2 separate regions of the Homo sapiens genome follow, and region 1 is linked to region 2. Evidence: promoter capture Hi-C in 16 types of primary human blood cells and fetal thymus (Javierre and others, 2016). All regions are on one chromosome and are shown on one strand. Each heading gives the region's core, a stretch centred on a gene start or on the middle of the fragment in contact. The rest is flanking DNA. Distances are from core to core; before and after follow the strand shown. Region 1 overlaps LOC107987043 (a long non-coding RNA gene). Region 2 holds the start of KCNV2 (potassium voltage-gated channel modifier subfamily V member 2).

Evidence for each region. Contacts are between HindIII fragments. The CHiCAGO score rates a contact against its expected background, and 5 or more counts as called.
Region 1: a fragment that was not itself captured here is called in contact with the fragment with the promoter of KCNV2 in region 2 in 1 of 17 cell types (M2 macrophages); the score reaches 5.0 in M2 macrophages.

Annotation. Positions count from the first base shown.
Region 1 is chr9:2,193,289-2,197,656 of GRCh38, forward strand. The region is part of intron 2 of LOC107987043 (a long non-coding RNA gene); the gene reads right to left. SMARCA2 (SWI/SNF related BAF chromatin remodeling complex subunit ATPase 2) reads left to right here. Exons shown (of 34, transcript NM_003070.5): 34 at 1-332. Among named protein-coding and RNA genes, the nearest start is that of SMARCA2, 180 kb to the left of the region's middle. The HindIII fragment of the contact is 1,029 bases long and covers 1,463-2,491 here.
Region 2 is chr9:2,714,319-2,718,759 of GRCh38, forward strand. KCNV2 (potassium voltage-gated channel modifier subfamily V member 2) reads left to right here and starts at 3,192. Exons shown (of 2, transcript NM_133497.4): 1 at 3,192-4,441. The coding sequence starts at 3,422. The HindIII fragment of the contact is 3,823 bases long and covers 1,283-4,441 here.

The sequences.
Region 1 (4,368 bases), core at 727-3,226, 520 kb before region 2:
CTATGATCTGAACAAAAGCTTTTTGAATTGTATAAGATTTATGTCTACTGTAAACATTGCTTAATTTTTTTGCTCTTGATTTAAAAAAAAGTTTTGTTGAAAGCGCTATTGAATATTGCAATCTATATAGTGTATTGGATGGCTTCTTTTGTCACCCTGATCTCCTATGTTACCAATGTGTATCGTCTCCTTCTCCCTAAAGTGTACTTAATCTTTGCTTTCTTTGCACAATGTCTTTGGTTGCAAGTCATAAGCCTGAGGCAAATAAAATTCCAGTAATTTCGAAGAATGTGGTGTTGGTGCTTTCCTAATAAAGAAATAATTTAGCTTGACAAATGCAGCCTCTTTCTTTGAATTCTAGAGGATTGAAACCCTTGTGCCTGAAGTGGCAGTTTCCTGCAGAGGGCTGGGCAGGCTCTTGCTACTGAACACTGGATAGGGAAAAAAAGGGAGAGGTCGAGAGAGCCAGTCTCCTTGAAGTGGTCCAGCTATGTCCACCAGGGGAGCCTGTTGCACCCATGACTTTATTAAACAAACAGCAGAAGAGATGCTGCCATGGGCCAAGCCATATGAAGTCCCTGCTCAGCCTTAAATTCTGTTTCTTAGTTGGAAAATCTCTCTCTATTGCTATTTATGCCTTTTGATTTTGAAAGATTTCAAAAATATTCCATCGAAAGACTGGTTCAATGAACACCTATATACCCTCCACCTGAGATTCAACAATGATTAATAGTTCATCCCCACCCCGTTTTATTTTACCAAACCATTGGAAAATAAGGTGCCGTCAGTCATTACGATACTTCGCACCTAGTATTTCAGCACAAATCTAAGAATAAGCGTATCTTGTAGCCAACCACAGTCCTATATCATACCAAAAGGAATTAACTAACAATAGTTCCCTGATATCTAAGAAACAAGCCATAGTCACATTTTCCCAACTGTCCTAACATCATCTTGTATTTGTTTAGTTTTAGCCAGGATCTTTTCAAGGCTCACACTTTTTGTGTTTGATTGTAACATTTGTCTCAATATCTTTTTTAAAGTTCTCAAAAAAATAGCACAAAGATGGGCAATTTTTTTTTTTTTTTTGAGACGGAGTCTCACACTATTGCCCAGGCTGGAGTGCAGTGGCGCGATCTCAGCTCACTGCAAGCTCTGCCCACCTCCCCCCCACCCGTTTCACGCCACTCTCCTGCCTCAACCTCCCAAGTAGCTGGGACTACAGGTGCCCGCCACCATGCCCGGCTAATTTATTGTATTTTTAGTAGATACAAGGTTTCACTGTTAGCCAGGATGGTCTCGATCTCCTGACCTCGTGATCTGCCTGTCTCGGCCTCCCAAAGTGCTGGGATTACAGGCGTGAGCCACCGTGCCCGGCCGATTCTTTCTTAAGGAACTGGTGATGTGATGATGATAGGATCAAAATGGGAGAGTTTTCCTTCAACACTGCTGGGTTGGTGAAAGCTTCCTTTTTTAGAATGATCTAAGGAGAACTCCAGGATCCTTGCTTTTACATGTGAGGATTTGCCAATGCCGCATACTGCTGTGAATCCTGAAGGAAATTTGATCCACACAGAATACAGTCCTGAGAAACTTCTTTGTCTCTCTAAATGTCAACTCGTTTGTTAATTTCCAGTAGTCTGAGAGTTCAGGAGAAGTTTCCCTTCTCGGTTGGTTTCTCGGATTTGCTAACTGCAATAGGATTGGAGACCTCCATGAAACAGTATACCCATATTAGTTTCTCTTACTGAGATGATTTGGTATCAGTTCAAAGAAAACAATCATCTTTGCTTGCTTCTATTTCTGTATTTTCTGTATTTTTTGTGCTCTTTGCAATCTCTCCTTGGCTTCAGAAGCATTGCTGTTTCTAACGCCCTCAAAACCACTGTCTCCATCGTTCAGGATTTCTATTGTGTGAAGAATGTTCTCTAATCCTTCAAGGAGAATGTGTTATTCTCTTTGGCTATAATGGAAATGAGAGCCAGGGATGATCATTGAGAACAGGAGTCTCTTCTCCTTCGGGTGGGACTGGTGGTAAACAGTCCAGGTGATAATTGAGGTGGCAGCAGAGTGAGCATGCACTAACAAGAAGACGGGCCATCGCGAGGGCTAAGGATGGGGCGGGCCATCCCGAGCATGTGCCTATGCGGACCTGTTTACCACGTTGTGGCAGCCTTCTTGTTCAGCTCTAGTTGCTGAGCCCATCAGCGTAGTTCTTTCCAAGGTCAAAGGTGTTTTAGGAACAGAGGAAGGAATCTAAGAGTATCAGGCTATGTACTGATTGCGTTATTTTATTCAATTACAAGAACGTGAGGAAGGCATAGTTCTTGTTCCCATTTGACAAATAAAGATAATGCAAAGAAGAGATTGAAGAGCAAAGAGCTGTGCACCAAAAGTTGGAAGTTAGATTTGTTTGATTCCAGACCCCATATTCCTTGGAGCTTCCCCACCTCCCCTCAGTGAGTGAGGCCTGGAACTGATCTTGTTGATAAGCTTCAGGCACCCATTTACCTGGCACTTGCTGACACAATTGGGCTTACAGAGAAGTCCTGGCTCAGGTTTCTAGTTCCCGTGAGCCTTTCCACTGAGACCCAGTTTTCTTGGCTGGGCCCTGCTACTCTGGCTCTTCCTTCACAGTCCTCTGCAAGGGCCAGAATGGGGTCCTTAGGTCCCAGCTACTGATGGTTCCTAAAGGCTACTGACTTAGATATCACTACTGCCATCATCCACCCATCAGATATAATGCCATATGTATACGTAGTGACCAAGTTCATGTTTGCCCCACACATTGATAAGACCACGTGTTTTCTGAGAAAGAGGTTTTTACACCCCATCATCTCCATAGGTGCTGGACAGAGTAGGCTTAGCGTGCAATTATATCTTCAAGTCCTCCAGTTCCATATCCAACCAGACTGGAATTCCTAAGCACTTCCCATGTGGAGAGTCTAGAGCCACCACCAGTGCCACCTGAAGGAACAGACGCCTGACTGCCCCCCTATCCAAGCCTGGCCTCTTACTCTAGTGTCAGTCTGCTACGTGGACCCGAGTTGGCACACATCACAGCTGGATCTGCCTGAGTTATGCCACCAGAAACATGATTCTCAGACTATTTTCATAGGTCAGACCCTTAAAATGGGGTGTTTTAAATATGAACCTCTCAATTTCCCATTAGAGATATTATATAGCCAGAATATACTGGAACCAGATGTACTGTAGCAGGAATATAAAGGTTTTAAAAGACCTTTTTCCCTCTAAGGCTGCTTATTTATCTTTAAGTGTAATTATTCAGATGAGAAATTAGGATCATGGCCCTTAATTGGGAGTCAAATGTGTGGGTTATTCTGGATTTTGCCACAGCCTTATTTGAGTTTTGATTTCCTCTATAAAACGTGAAGAATAAGTGAGTCGTCCTGTAATTGCAAGCTGTGTAGTTGAGACATACTGTCGTGTTGTCAAAGGTTTGCAGTATGTTAGAAAAAATTGCTTGTAAATTAAATGTCATTAAAACATCCAGAAAGATTCTCAAAGTCAAGAAATAGACTGGAGATGGCTTTTAAGGGCCCTTCAATCATTGACAGTTTTGAAACCAGTGTTTCTCAGAGTGTGGTCCCCAAACTAGCAGCATCAGCATGACTTGGAAACATTGGAAATGCACATTCTCATGCCTCATCCCAGACCTGCTGAATCAGAAACTCTGAGGGTGGGGCCCCCTAATAGAACATACGCTCCAGATGATTCTGATATATACTCAAGTTTGAGAACCACTAGTCTATTAGGCTTTTAATAATCTCTATTATTTCATTCCTGAGGAACAATATGAGGCCATACTGGTCTTGATTTAGATCATCGGTACAGGCATATACACCCAGCACGCAATTGTCATTCTTCTAAAAAGAAAGTCACCATCAATGGGAATAATAGGAAAAGCTGAATATTTTTTTTTTCTCTCTCTGAAACGGCTTTTCTGTCTCGTACATTACAAGGCAGCAATCTTCATTTGTGCTTGACTTAACCTTCATTGAGAGTGATGTGGTGTAATACTTGGGGGAAATATCTTTGGTTTACTTAGCAGAAAGGTAGAGACATACTCTCCCTTTATGAATAAATGTTTTTCCCACAAGAATTTTAGGAGTCAATCTTATTCTTGAAGAAATGGGCACATCTAATCCTTTTCTTAAAATTTACTAAGAGCCTGCATCAAACTAGATAAAGTACAATTTCTGTTCTTATTTGTATATACTGTCATATAGTGTGTGAATCTGTTTTGCCTGGGGAGGAGTAATGAAAAATGATAGAGCATAGGGTCAGGAATAATGACTGATAGGGCTAGAATCGCTAAACCTTGGTCCAGGTGAACTGTATTCATCC
Region 2 (4,441 bases), core at 1,942-4,441:
TGCATATACATCAGGGCAAAATCCAAGCAACTACTCATACCGGGGGTGTAAGAGTCACTTAAGTGGGGTCTACCCAGGTAATATTCCTCAATCTACTGTATGGATGTGGTGTTTGTGCTTAGCTTCTAGATGCCATACAAACATTACTAACTCCATAGTTTTTAAGTGTTGAAAGTCTGGATAAGTGGTAGTACATGGGTTGGGCATGGTGGCTTACACCTGTAATCCCAGCATTTTGGGAGACCAAGGTGGGTGGATCACCTGAGATCAGGAGTTCGGGACCAGCCTGGCCAACATGACAAAACCCCATCTCTACTAAAATTACAAAAATTAGCCAGGCATGCTGGCGGGCGCCTGTAATCCCAGCTAGTCAGGAGGCTGAAGCAGAAGAATTGCTTGAACCCAGGAGGCGGAGATTGCAGTGAGCCGAGATCACGCCACTGCACTCCAGCCTGGGCAACACAGTGAGACTCTGTCTCAAAAAAAAAAAAAAAAAGTAGTATATTATTTCAATTGAAAAAGAAGAAGATAAAAATATGAAAATGGTGATATTTTTACTTTTTTTTTTTTTGTCGAGACCAAGTCTCACTCTGTCACCCAGGCTGGAGTATAGCAGCATGATCTCAGCTCACTGCAACTTCTGTCTCCCGGGTTCAAACAATTCTTGTGTGTCAGCCTCCTGAGTAACTGGGATTACAGGCACCCGCCAACATGCCCAGCCCGGCTAATTTTTGTATTTTTAGTAGAGATGGGGTTTCACCAAGTTGGCCAGGCTGGTCTCAAACTCCTTACCTCGAGTGATCCACCTACCTCGGCCTCCCAAAGTGCTAGGATTACAGGCGTGAGCCACCACACCCAGTCTTTACTTTTTATAATAGTATAATTGGTTCTGAAGAGAAAAGGTGAATTTATGCAACATGCAAAATCTATTATGGCAGTACTCAGCACAATATAAAGAAAAGATAGACTTGGAAAGCAATTAAGTGTGTGGCTAGCAAAACAACATCAATATTGTATACCAAAAAGGGAACGCTAGAAATACATTTAGGAACTTAAAGGCTAAGCCTGGTAAGAAGCTTTACCATAAGCTTGTAGGTCTGAGGCCTATTGCAAGCTAAACAACATCAGTGAATGCCACACTAGCAGATGCAGACCTCATAACGTTACCCGTCTCAACAACTTTGAAGCATAGTTAAAACTCAACTAAGTGACAAAGATAGTACCACAAATCAGTGAGGAAATGATGGATTATGCAATTAATGTGTTGAAACATCTGGATAAAAGCTTGGAAAATAAAGTTAGGCCCCTACTTCACTCTTTACATCAAAATTAATTTCTGATGTTAAAACTATAAAAAGAAAAGTTTTATTTACAGAGAGGTGAAGCCTTTTCTAATACTACACAACACCCAGAAATCATAAAATAAAGATTTTTACATGGAAAAAATATTAAAGTTAAAACCGAAAAAAGGTGCAATCCATATCACAAGTAAAGGGTCTTTTTTCATAATGTATTAAGCTCTCCTACAAATCAATAAGAAAAATGTAAACAACTCAGTGGAAAATATAGGCAAAGTCGATGAACAGACAGTTCCCAGAAAAAGAAATAGCTTTTAATCACATGAAAAAGTGTTCAATCACATTTATAAGAAATACAAATTAACCCACACATCATTTTTCACTTACAAAATTGGTAGAGTTAAAAAAGTATAAGACATTTTCAACCGTTGATGAATTGTAAATTGGTAAAACTTTTATGGAGAGAAATGTAGCACTACTAATCAAAATTACAAATGTGCAATCTTTGACCTAGTAATCTCACCTCTAAGAATTTATCCTTTATATATCTTGAACATGTGTAAAGTGATGTACATATAAGGTATTTGTTGCATAATTGTCCATAAAAGCAAAGGTAGAAACATTCTGAATGTCTGTCATTAGGAAAGTGCTCAGTGGCTATTTTTAAAATAAGGTAGATATTTGTGTTCAAATATGAAAACATCTTTTATATGGCCAACTGGAAAAGGCAAAGTATATAGCATTCTATGATTTCTATTAATAATGAAGAGGTACTGAGATGATGGATAAAGGTAGGTATATTTTTGCTTGTATATGTTTAGAATATTTCTGGAAGGATAGCCAAAAGGTAGTAATAGTGGTTGCTTCCTTGAGGTACACCTGATGTCTTGAAATTATGGGTGGGAAAGACATAAACTTTCTACTGTAATATGTCTTTTTACCTTTACAATTTTTTATCATGAATGTGTATTAGCTATGCAAAATAAATTGAATAGAAAAACCAATTCCCTGCTCAAAGCAAATCCCTCCTGCTTCTCTCCTCCCCAGTATTTATTGCATCTTTTGTTATCCTTGCATGTTTATATCCCCAACAAAACCAAGAGTTCTTTGACTGCTACAACTGTGTCTCCATCGTGTTTGCATATCCAGCATTTGCACATTGCCTTAATCATGAAAAGGGTTTTTTTTTTTTTTTTAAAGTGATGTTTTGAAGGATGAAGAAGACCCTTTTTTTTTGGGTGGAAGTCAGGCTCCCTTTAAATATGGCCTAATATTGCTGAGCAGGGTTGTGAGGCCCTAAAAACGTCTTCCTACCATTCCTGGAATTCTACCTTGAAACATGTCTCTATCCTTTAAGAGAAAGGGAGGAGATAAAAAGGAGAGAGAGAAGCTGAAGCTGACTCAAAGATCCGACTGGACCTGAACAGTGCCCCAGGGAGAATCCATTTGAAAAAAAAAAAAAAATGTGATCATGTGAATGGACAAGAAGGAGATGGCTTTAGATCTTATATGCTCTAAACGAAGAGTTACGCTGAGAGGGAAACTGACTTGTCATGAAGTCAGCTTTGTTCCGTTGCTATGTGTCATCCCTGCTAATGGTGAGTTTACCTAGGGCAGAGGCTACCATCTCAACCATGAAGCTGAAGACACAGGCATCCGTATTCTATAGCTAATTCAGTTGATTTCATCTCAGCACACATACACTGAGCGCTTCCTAAGAGCGAGGTTGACCGACATTTTTATTAGCAATAATCTCTGCCTTCTTCTGATTACCTAGAGATTTAAGACCACATAATCATCCTCTACCTCACAGGGTCAAGGGAGTGGGGGAGGAAATGGGCTAAGAGGTTCTAAATCCCTCCTAACACTTGCTTCTTCCAAATCAGCAAGATTAGAGCAGTCAACAGCTGACTGCGTTCAGACCCTGCAGGCTGGGCTGGCCTGCCCAGGACCTGAGAAGGGGCAGCTCCGGTGGCAATGTCTGAGCCCCTAGCTGTGCTGGTCCGGGCTGGCCTCTCTAAGACAGTGCAGGCCACGTGATCCATCCTCCTAGAGGCAGTGAGCAGGTGAGGGACCCCTACCACAGCCAGGAGGAAAAAGCTAGGCGTCCACTTTCCGCAGCCATGCTCAAACAGAGTGAGAGGAGACGGTCCTGGAGCTACAGGCCCTGGAACACGACGGAGAATGAGGGCAGCCAACACCGCAGGAGCATTTGCTCCCTGGGTGCCCGTTCCGGCTCCCAGGCCAGCATCCACGGCTGGACAGAGGGCAACTATAACTACTACATCGAGGAAGACGAAGACGGCGAGGAGGAGGACCAGTGGAAGGACGACCTGGCAGAAGAGGACCAGCAGGCAGGGGAGGTCACCACCGCCAAGCCCGAGGGCCCCAGCGACCCTCCGGCCCTGCTGTCCACGCTGAATGTGAACGTGGGTGGCCACAGCTACCAGCTGGACTACTGCGAGCTGGCCGGCTTCCCCAAGACGCGCCTAGGTCGCCTGGCCACCTCCACCAGCCGCAGCCGCCAGCTAAGCCTGTGCGACGACTACGAGGAGCAGACAGACGAATACTTCTTCGACCGCGACCCGGCCGTCTTCCAGCTGGTCTACAATTTCTACCTGTCCGGGGTGCTGCTGGTGCTCGACGGGCTGTGTCCGCGCCGCTTCCTGGAGGAGCTGGGCTACTGGGGCGTGCGGCTCAAGTACACGCCACGCTGCTGCCGCATCTGCTTCGAGGAGCGGCGCGACGAGCTGAGCGAACGGCTCAAGATCCAGCACGAGCTGCGCGCGCAGGCGCAGGTCGAGGAGGCGGAGGAACTCTTCCGCGACATGCGCTTCTACGGCCCGCAGCGGCGCCGCCTCTGGAACCTCATGGAGAAGCCATTCTCCTCGGTGGCCGCCAAGGCCATCGGGGTGGCCTCCAGCACCTTCGTGCTCGTCTCCGTGGTGGCGCTGGCGCTCAACACCGTGGAGGAGATGCAGCAGCACTCGGGGCAGGGCGAGGGCGGCCCAGACCTGCGGCCCATCCTGGAGCACGTGGAGATGCTGTGCATGGGCTTCTTCACGCTCGAGTACCTGCTGCGCCTAGCCTCCACGCCCGACCTGAGGCGCTTCGCGCGCAGCGCCCTCAACCTGGTGGACCTG